Regions from separate parts of the Homo sapiens genome. Here all the other regions are linked to region 2. Evidence: promoter capture Hi-C in human tissues and cell types (Jung and others, 2019). All regions are on one chromosome and are shown on one strand. Each heading gives the region's core, a stretch centred on a gene start or on the middle of the fragment in contact. The rest is flanking DNA. Distances are from core to core; before and after follow the strand shown. Region 1 overlaps ABL2 (ABL proto-oncogene 2, non-receptor tyrosine kinase). Region 2 holds the start of C1orf220 (chromosome 1 putative open reading frame 220). Region 3 overlaps SOAT1 (sterol O-acyltransferase 1).

Evidence for each region. Contacts are between HindIII fragments. The study calls those that stand out against the background at their distance.
Region 1: a fragment that was not itself captured here is called in contact with the fragment with the promoter of C1orf220 in region 2 in 2 of the 25 tissues and cell types used here (aorta and hippocampus).
Region 3: a contact is called between a fragment that was not itself captured here and the fragment with the promoter of C1orf220 in region 2, in 1 of the 25 tissues and cell types used here (spleen).

What each region holds. Positions count from the first base shown.
Region 1 is chr1:179,118,831-179,121,685 of GRCh38, reverse strand. It overlaps ABL2 (ABL proto-oncogene 2, non-receptor tyrosine kinase), which reads left to right. Exons shown (of 12, transcript NM_007314.4): 5 at 1-91; 6 at 1,412-1,496. Among named protein-coding and RNA genes, the nearest start is that of TOR3A, 38 kb to the right of the region's middle. The HindIII fragment of the contact is 4,159 bases long and covers 1-2,855 here.
Region 2 is chr1:178,541,518-178,544,291 of GRCh38, reverse strand. C1orf220 (chromosome 1 putative open reading frame 220) reads right to left here and starts at 1,496. Exons shown (of 3, transcript NR_033186.1): 1 at 1,407-1,496. It overlaps LOC124904460 (a long non-coding RNA gene), which reads left to right and starts at 1,647. Exons shown (of 2, transcript XR_007066748.1): 1 at 1,647-2,258; 2 at 2,466-2,774. RefSeq lists silencers at 1,262-1,331, 1,362-1,691 and an enhancer at 1,742-1,801. The HindIII fragment of the contact is 22,776 bases long and covers 1-2,774 here.
Region 3 is chr1:179,345,878-179,348,678 of GRCh38, reverse strand. SOAT1 (sterol O-acyltransferase 1) reads right to left here. Exons shown (of 16, transcript NM_003101.6): 12 at 982-1,079. Among named protein-coding and RNA genes, the nearest start is that of AXDND1, 19 kb to the left of the region's middle. The HindIII fragment of the contact is 9,338 bases long and covers 1-2,801 here.

The sequences.
Region 1 (2,855 bases), core at 205-2,704, 580 kb before region 2:
GAAGCACAAACTTGGGGGCGGTCAGTATGGAGAGGTTTACGTTGGCGTCTGGAAGAAATACAGCCTTACAGTTGCTGTGAAAACATTGAAGGTGGGTTGCTGAGAATTACAGTTTTCAGGCATCTTTTTCTTTTGTGCTCAATCACTTGGAAATATCAGCATGCCCTTCTTTAACTTTGGAACACTTTCCACCCACTAGTGCCAAGCACATCAGCAAATTGAGATGATTAACCCTAGTGCCATTGCTGACAATGCAGAGGTAGATTATTCACTGCAATGCAGTGAAACCCACATGTGGGAAAGGTCTGTCTCTGGAGGCTGTTGATGTAGATCTTAGTGGGAGGTTAGAAGCAAATTAAAAGTTATAAAAGCAAAATAAGCTCTTTTGCTTCCTGAGAACGACCCCTGCTGGACAGAATTCTTGTCTGAGAGTCATGGGCCTCTTTCTTGTTCTGTCCTTTCTCTCCCTTGTTCTTGTTCCTCCTGTCTCTTTGCAGTTAGATCACTTCTTAATATTAACAGAAATCTTTTTCGTAGTACTACTATATGTCTCCTTTAAACATCCCAGTATCAAATTATAAGGTTTTCACTCACTTGATTCTCCCAGAGCCTCAGTAACTGTCTCTGGTGTATCACTTATAAGGGCTATTCTTTAGCTATTAAGTAGTAGTCAGTTCTGTTTCTTAAGCATATTCTGAGTGTGAAGCAATATATAAGGCCTTGCTCTCTAAGAAGATTATGATCTAAGCAAGAAGATAAGTATGTAAGCAGCTAAGTGCTCTGTCTCGTCATTCAAAGCCTGAGATATCTGGAGAAGTAAACTATGAGAGAACTGAACTATCCAATACAGGGCTCCTGTGTTTCAGTTGATTATAGGACACGATTGCTGAATTTTGCTCCTCCTGCTAATTTTTACTCCAGGGCATTTTTCTTTCTAAGTTGGACTTCTTAAAATAATAATTATTTCAGCTGGGCGTGGTGGCTCACACCTGTAATCCCAGCAATTTGGGGAGCTCAGGTGGGCGAATCACCTGAGGTCAGGAGAGCATCCTGGCCAACATTGCAAAACCCCGTCTCTACTAAAAATACAAAAAGTAGCCAGGCATGGTCGTGCATGCCTGTAATCCCAGCTACTTGGGAGGCTGAGCCAGGAGAATCGCTTGAGCCCAGGAAGCGGAGGTTGCAGTGAGATCACACCACTTCACCCCAACCTGGGTAACAGAGCGAGACCGTGTCTCAAAAAAATAAATTAAATTAAAATAATAATTATATCTTGTAATATGCTAAAATATTCAAAAGATAGTTTTTACTTTTAAAGCTGAAGCTTTATGATTGTGAGATGAATGAAATGATTTTAAGTTGAGGGTTTGTCCCTCTCGTTTTCTTCTTTCTTACCTTTCCCTTTTTCTAGGAAGATACCATGGAGGTAGAAGAATTCCTGAAAGAAGCTGCAGTAATGAAGGAAATCAAGCATCCTAATCTGGTACAACTTTTAGGTGAGGAACCTTGCCTGAACCATAGATTTCCTCCAAAAATGCTTGCCCTTTAACCCCTTGTTATCTCCAAATGCTTTTTTTTTTTCTTTTTAAATATAGAGACAGGGTCTCGCTCTGTTGTCCAGGCTGCTGTTGACGTGATACTTCCGCCTGGGCCTTTCAATATGTTGGGATTACAGGCATGAGCCACCATGCCCCGCCTTTTTTCCTCCCCCAAACCTTTCTTTTTAGTCACCATGGTGGAAGCTGCAGGTTTGAATCCACTTCAATAAATAGTTATTTTAATCAGTAGGTTCTGTGTTTAAAAATAGCCCAAGAAACAGTGGCCTGGATTGATTTTGGTGTATAAAACTGCTCAGTTTGTACTAATTGCCCCAGATTCAAAGTTCAGAAGTGTTCAAAATGGTACTGAACCAAAAACTCATGAAATGTTTTTGCAAAATAAAGAGACATTAAACAAAGGACTGTTGAAAAGAAGCAAATTAAAAACTGTGACCACACCCCTCAGTTTACCTTTACAAGCAGGAAATGCTTTATTATGTTAGATTGGCTTTTCACTGTTCAGGTCACAAAGAACTCTCTTACTAAGCCTTTTTCCTTTTTTAAAATAGGGCCAGGTTTTTTTTTTTTTCTTTTTTTTGGGGGGGTGTGGGGGGTGTTTTTTTTTGTTTGTTTTTTAAATACAGAGTCTTGCTCTGTCACCCTGGCTGGAGTGCAGTGGCATGATCCTGGCTCACTGCAACCTCCACCTCCCAGGTTCAAGCTATTCTCGTGCCTCAACGTGCATCACCACGCCCAGCTAATTTTTGTAGTAGAGACAGGGTTTTGCTATGTTGGACAGTCAAGTCTTGAACTGCTGGGCTCAGGCGATCTGCCTGCCTCAGCCTCCCAAAGTGCTAGGATTACAGGCATGAGCCACTGCACCCGGCCTCTTGTTGGTTTTTTATAAGGAATCTGCCATATATCAGTGAAATCCTTGACTATGGAAATGATGAAAATCATTTTGCAAAGCAGTATTGCAGGTGGGGCTCACATAGTCTTCAGCTTGTGCACAATTGCTATTACTTTTGAATAAGTATTGTTAGCCTGCAGTTGAGGAGGAGAATCATGGGCCATGTGCAAAACTCTAGACATGTTGGTTTTCTTGGCCCCTTATAGAATTAATACAGGTAACTCTGCTTTTGCTCAAATAGACAAATACTCAGAGGCATATGAATTCCCAGAGAACAATACAGTGAAAGCAAGGACTCCCTTATAAACCAGCTTCTTAGTTTTTGCTTATTAATTTCAGAGAACGTGGTGGTAAGAAGGGAAAAGATTATTGCCGAACTAGACCTGAAAAATTGTCAAATTATTCTT
Region 2 (2,774 bases), core at 247-2,746:
GAACTTCTGGATTTAGGAAAACAAAACAGGCCAGGCGCGGTGGCTCACACCTGTAATCCCAGCACTCTGGGAGGCCAAGGCGGGCAGATCAGGAGCTTGAGACCAGCCTGCCCAACGTGAGAAACCCTGTCTCTACTAAGAATAAAAAATTTAGCCAGGCATGGTGGTGGCACGCCTGTTAATCCCCGCTACTTGGGAGATTGAGGCAGGAGAATCGCTTGAACCTGGGAAGCAGAGGTTGCAGTGAGTCGAGATGGCGCCACTGCACTCCAGCCTGGGCCACAGAGCGAGACTCCGTCTCAAACAAACAAACGACAACAACAAAATGCAAACTCTGGCCAGGCGCGGTGGCTCATGCCTGTAATCCCAGCACGTTGGGAGGCCAAGGTGGGCGTATCACTTGAGGTCAGGAGTTCAAGACCAGCCTGGCGAACATGGTGAAACCCCATCTCTACTAAAAATACAAAAATTAGCCAGGTGTGGTGTCATGCACCTGTAGTCCCAGCTACTCAGAAGGCTGAGGCAGGATAATCGCTTGAACCTGGAAGACAGGTTGCGGTGAGCACAGATCGCGCCACTGCACCCCAACCTGAGCGACAGAACAAGACTTCATAAAAAAAAAAAAAACCCCACGCAGATTGCAGATTCCTGGGCCCCATCTTCGCCTTTCTGAATTGCAGCCTTTCACCCTTTAAGAATGAGAGGGTGAAATCTGCACGTCATACAAATAGCCCAGGGGCTATTAATCTGATGTTGCTCCCCAGCTCCCTCCAACACCGTCAGAGGGTGCACGGATTAGGCCTCTGCTGCGTGCAGAGAAGCATCCTAGGTGCTGCGTGGCTGTGCCAAAGCAGCAGAAACCGGTGGTGTGCCTTAAGATGCATGCTCCAAAGCTGTCCACAAGGCCTCTGGTACAGGCTTCCAGGTCTACGTCTCGGCTTCCCCGACAGTGTCCATGCGACACTGTCACCAGTTTCTCCTCTCACAAGCAGAAAATCAAATTCGGATTGGGCAAATGATTCCCTGCCCGGGTGTGGAATAAGGGTCAAGTCCTAAGTATGGAGAGAGAGCGCCGGCTCCCGCCAGGATATGCGAAGCTCTGGAGGGGAGGCCAAGCCACCAGGCACCCGGCGGGAGAAGAGGAGGCTGGAGAGCGCCGCCCAGTGCCTGCAGGCCGGGCGCTCCACGCCTCCCCTCCCTCCTGCACACCCCATTCCCCTCCGGTTGCCCCGCCTGGGAAGCCCCCTCCCCACACCTCCCGGCCCAGCATCTGCACGAGAGCCGCGAGCCCTGGCCCAGAGCTCTGGGTGGGCCTCTCACCCCAGACGGCGGCCGCAGCCCGTCCCTGATCACCGGCCGCCTGAGCCCTCCGTTCGCTCGGCGCGAGCGCCGCCACCCGTCCTTACCCCCATCCAGTCCGAGGCCAGCCCCGTAGGCTCCGAGCCTGCTCCGTGAAAAGCCTTTTCCCCAGGAGGAGAGTTACTGTAAAGCAAGAGGAAGCCGAGAAGAGGCGGTGGCTGCAGCGCGCGGGGCCCGGCGGGGGCGCGGGGGCGTCGGGGTACTGACTGGGCAGCGCGGTTTCCCCTCATCCCGGGACACGGTGCGGCGCTAGCGCCACCCAGCGGGCGCGGTGGGAATTGCGCTCCCTTCCTGCGCTGGGGCTCTGGACACACAGGCGACCAAGAATGACGCCTGCAGCCGGATAAACGCTCGGGGCAAGGCCGCTATCATCCCTCTGCCGGGAGTGAGTCAAGTCTCAGCAAAAGAAGAAGCCACTTTGGCCAAAATTCCAAGAGTGCTGATGAAGACGGTGACATCTGACATTTCAATGGCACTTTCCATTTCCCCCGGGGTGCGCATTCCGGGCCAGTGGAGCGCTGCGTCGCCTGTGCAGGACCTGGAGGTCTGCAGGACTGTGACCAGTCGGAGTCTCGGAGTCGTGGGTTAAACATTAGTCGGGAGCACTCGTTCATTCCCTGAGCTCCCCTTGCCCTTCACCCTTCGGTCCCGGAAGCCGGAAGGGAGACTGCCCCGCCCCTTGCCTGCCGCCCAGTGGCTCTCCCGGGGCCCTCTTGGCCCCTCTCTCCCAGCCCTCCATACAGTGAAGGGTTGTTTCCGCTGGTGACTTCCACCTGTGGGAGCAGAGAAAGGAAGCGGGGCAGAGGAGAAGGGGAAGGTGTCAGGCGATTCCCCTCCTTGCGCTGCAAGCCGGGTGGGAATAGAACACCTGCAGCCCTCCCCGGCGCCCTGCGAATGAGGTGGGAGTGGGAACGCCATCAGGGCAGAGCCCCTCCAGCTGGCTGGGGTCTGCACCTCCTCGCCAGCCCGGCCACCTCAAAACGGTGCTTGCCTCCCTGCGGGGGTGTAGAAGCCTCTTGGAGCAGCACTTGTAGAAAATCAAGTCCCTGGAAAGAAGCAAAATTAATCCGTTTGTTTCTCTATTTATTTTTGCTTCCCCACACCAGGTATTCACTTCATCCAAGGCTGCCCAATGTCACCTTCCACCCAGAGGAATCTCCCCTCTCCACCCCAGGCCAACAGCCTCTGCCTTCAGCTGTGGCCTCCACTCTGGCATTACTCTGGGCAGAGGGCTCAGGAGGGCTCAAGGAGGACCAGTGACATTCAGAGTGGCCAGAGTAAAGGGAGGGAGGGGGAGTGGTGGGAGAGGCGTGCAGAAGGCACAGGTGAGGTGGCGGAGGGGGGCAGGTGGTGGGGGGAGCGGGCTGGGGTGGGATGGGCCTGTCAGCATAGCAAGGGCTGTGATGGGCTTGAGT
Region 3 (2,801 bases), core at 276-2,775, 800 kb before region 2:
TTCATACACTGGTGACAGAAAAATCTTCAAAGGCATTTTGGTTATTAGTGTTGAATATGACATGAATTCTCATACTATATATGATTTAGTTCCTAGGTTCATACGGAACACATAGAATCATTTAAATCTAATGTTCATCTAAACAGCAATCAGTAAGCCCCACCCCCCTTACCCTACTAGAATGTCATGAGAAAATTCTATGGTCATGAAGACCAGAGAGAGTGCTAACACTAGAGAGCTGTTTGGTGGTTACCATAAATGGCAAAATTATCCAGGGTGAGATGGTGGCTACCTCAAAGTCCTGGTATCCCTATATATGCTTCTTGCTCCCAATATTAAGATCAGATGAATGAAATCAGGTATCTAAAATCTGCAATCCACACTTAAAGTTTCTTTGAGAAAAAAGGTGGTAGACTTGGAGTGTTGCCAAAAACAACTCAAAGAGAGCTTTAGGTAGGGTTAAAGAATGCTATGAGCCATTCTGACTCTAATTCTATAGCTTAATTCCAACTTTAGAAGCATAAGGATACTATCTGAAGCAAAATTAACACCTTTCAAAACTAAAGAGGGAAAAGTTATTTCCCTCATGAACTGCTCAATTGTCTTAAATGGAATAATTTGCTGAGGTCATTCCTACAGAACTAGACGGTCCATTTCAAATGAATGAACACTCAGGGAAGTCTCATGGTGTGCTCTGAACAAACAGTTTCCTACTGGAATCACCAATATATCCTTGCAGGATCCAGCAGAAACCATGTGCTTATGTTAAGGGAGCAGATATTAGAGACAGAAGAAAACACAAGGTTATGCTAGTTATATCTGTAACCGAATTTCAGAAAATACTGGCAAAACTTGTAGAAAAGAAAATTATTTCACAATGTTTGTGTGAAAGGCTGGTGACATTAGCCAACAATGTCAAAATACTAATAATGAAGAAGTTAATAAAATGTAAAAAGAAAGCTAAGTCTAAGTATATACTACCTTATAGAACATCCTGTCACCAAAGCGTAACATCTCAGCAAAGGCATTGAGCCAGCAGTGCAAAAAGGCAAAAAAAGTAAGGAAGAGAATCAGCACACCTAAAAATAAGATTAACAATATTAACAGTCTTTCCAAATAGCTCACATACCAAGCAACTAATTATATCACATCATTTTATTTAGCTGGGATTATTTTGTAAAATATAAGTTATTATTCCAGTTTACCCATTCCAGAGATGATATACTTTTGGAGTTAATTATCTTAATTTTAAAACAGTAACTTCCTTCAAAGTGGGTTCAACAAATGACATTACCCAGTCTGGTTTTTTTTTTTCTTTTTTGAGACAGAGTCCTGCTCTGTCACCCAGGCTGGAGTGCAGTGGCGCGATCTCGGCTCACTGCAACCTCTGCCTCCAGGGTTCAAGCAATTCTCCTGCCTCAGCCTCCCAAGTAGCTGGAACTACAGGCATGTACCACCACATCTGGCTAATTTTTTGTATTTTTAGTAGAGACCGGGTTTCACCATGTTGGCCAGGCAGGTCTCAATCTCCTGACCTTGTGATCTGCCCACCTCAGCCTCCCGAAGTGCTAGGATTACAGGCGTGAGCCATCGCGCCCAGCCTACCCAGTCTGTTTTTAAGAAATGCCTAAATATATGGCTTAACTTAGTACCCAAGGTCCTTTAAAAATCTGGCCCCCATACCCCCCTCTTAAACAATTGTTTAAAACTGGGAGAGATTTTGCCCCCTCTCCCCCACAGGACATTTGAAATTCTAGAGACTTTTTGTTTTTAAAAGACAGGGTTTCACTATGTTGCCCAGGCTGAACTTCAACTCCTGGGGCTCAAGTGATCCTCCCACCTCAGCCTCCAGAATAGCTGGGACTACCGGTGCAAGCTACTGCACCAGTGCTGTGACAATTGGAGGAGAGGGAGTGGTGCCACTGGTATCTAGTTGTTAGAGGCCAGGATGCTGCTGAACAGTTTATGCTACAATGCAGAAGAATGCCACTCCAAACAAAGAATTAACCAGTCCAAAATGTTAATAGTGACATGGTTAACATAGTGACATGGATAACATTCTAAACATATCTCCAGTGATTCTACCCTCTAAGTGTTGTAAACATTATCCACAACTGGGTTTATGCCATTCCAGAATGCTCCATGCCCTTGCATCCATCCCACTACCTAGAATGACCTTTCCACCAATTCTCTGCCAGGCAAATACCTACCTATTTTTCAATACCCAATATTAAATGTTATCTCTAATGTGAAACAAAGGCCATAAGCATTTTGTTTATCCTACTTATGTAGTACATATTACAATATATTGTAAAATATCCATTTATATGTCCATCTCTTTCACTCATTTATTGAAAAATATATATTTATAGAGCATCAACTATGTACCAGACAATATGAGAGAGACTGTGATTGGCTATAAAACACAATCCTTGAACTCAATAACTTTGCAGCTAGTGAGGAAGACACTCAAGTATGTAACACATATTCTATTTTAGGGACAGATACAGAGTTCATTCAAATAAGTCCTGGGGCTGGTGAGGGAGGGTTACTGGAAGAGGAATGCAAGAGAAGAAAAGAAAGGGAAGGTGATGACAGAAAACATTACCAACATTCAATGAGTAAAGAAAAGAGGAAAAGTAAGGGAAACTATAAAAGCTCCCAGACTGTAAAGATAATACATCTCTTGTTCACTTCTGAGTCCTCTGCACCTGGCATAGTACTAGGTACTCATATATCTCTATAATAGACAAAAAAATGCAATAAATATATTTAAGAAATCAAGGTATGGTCGGAAAGAC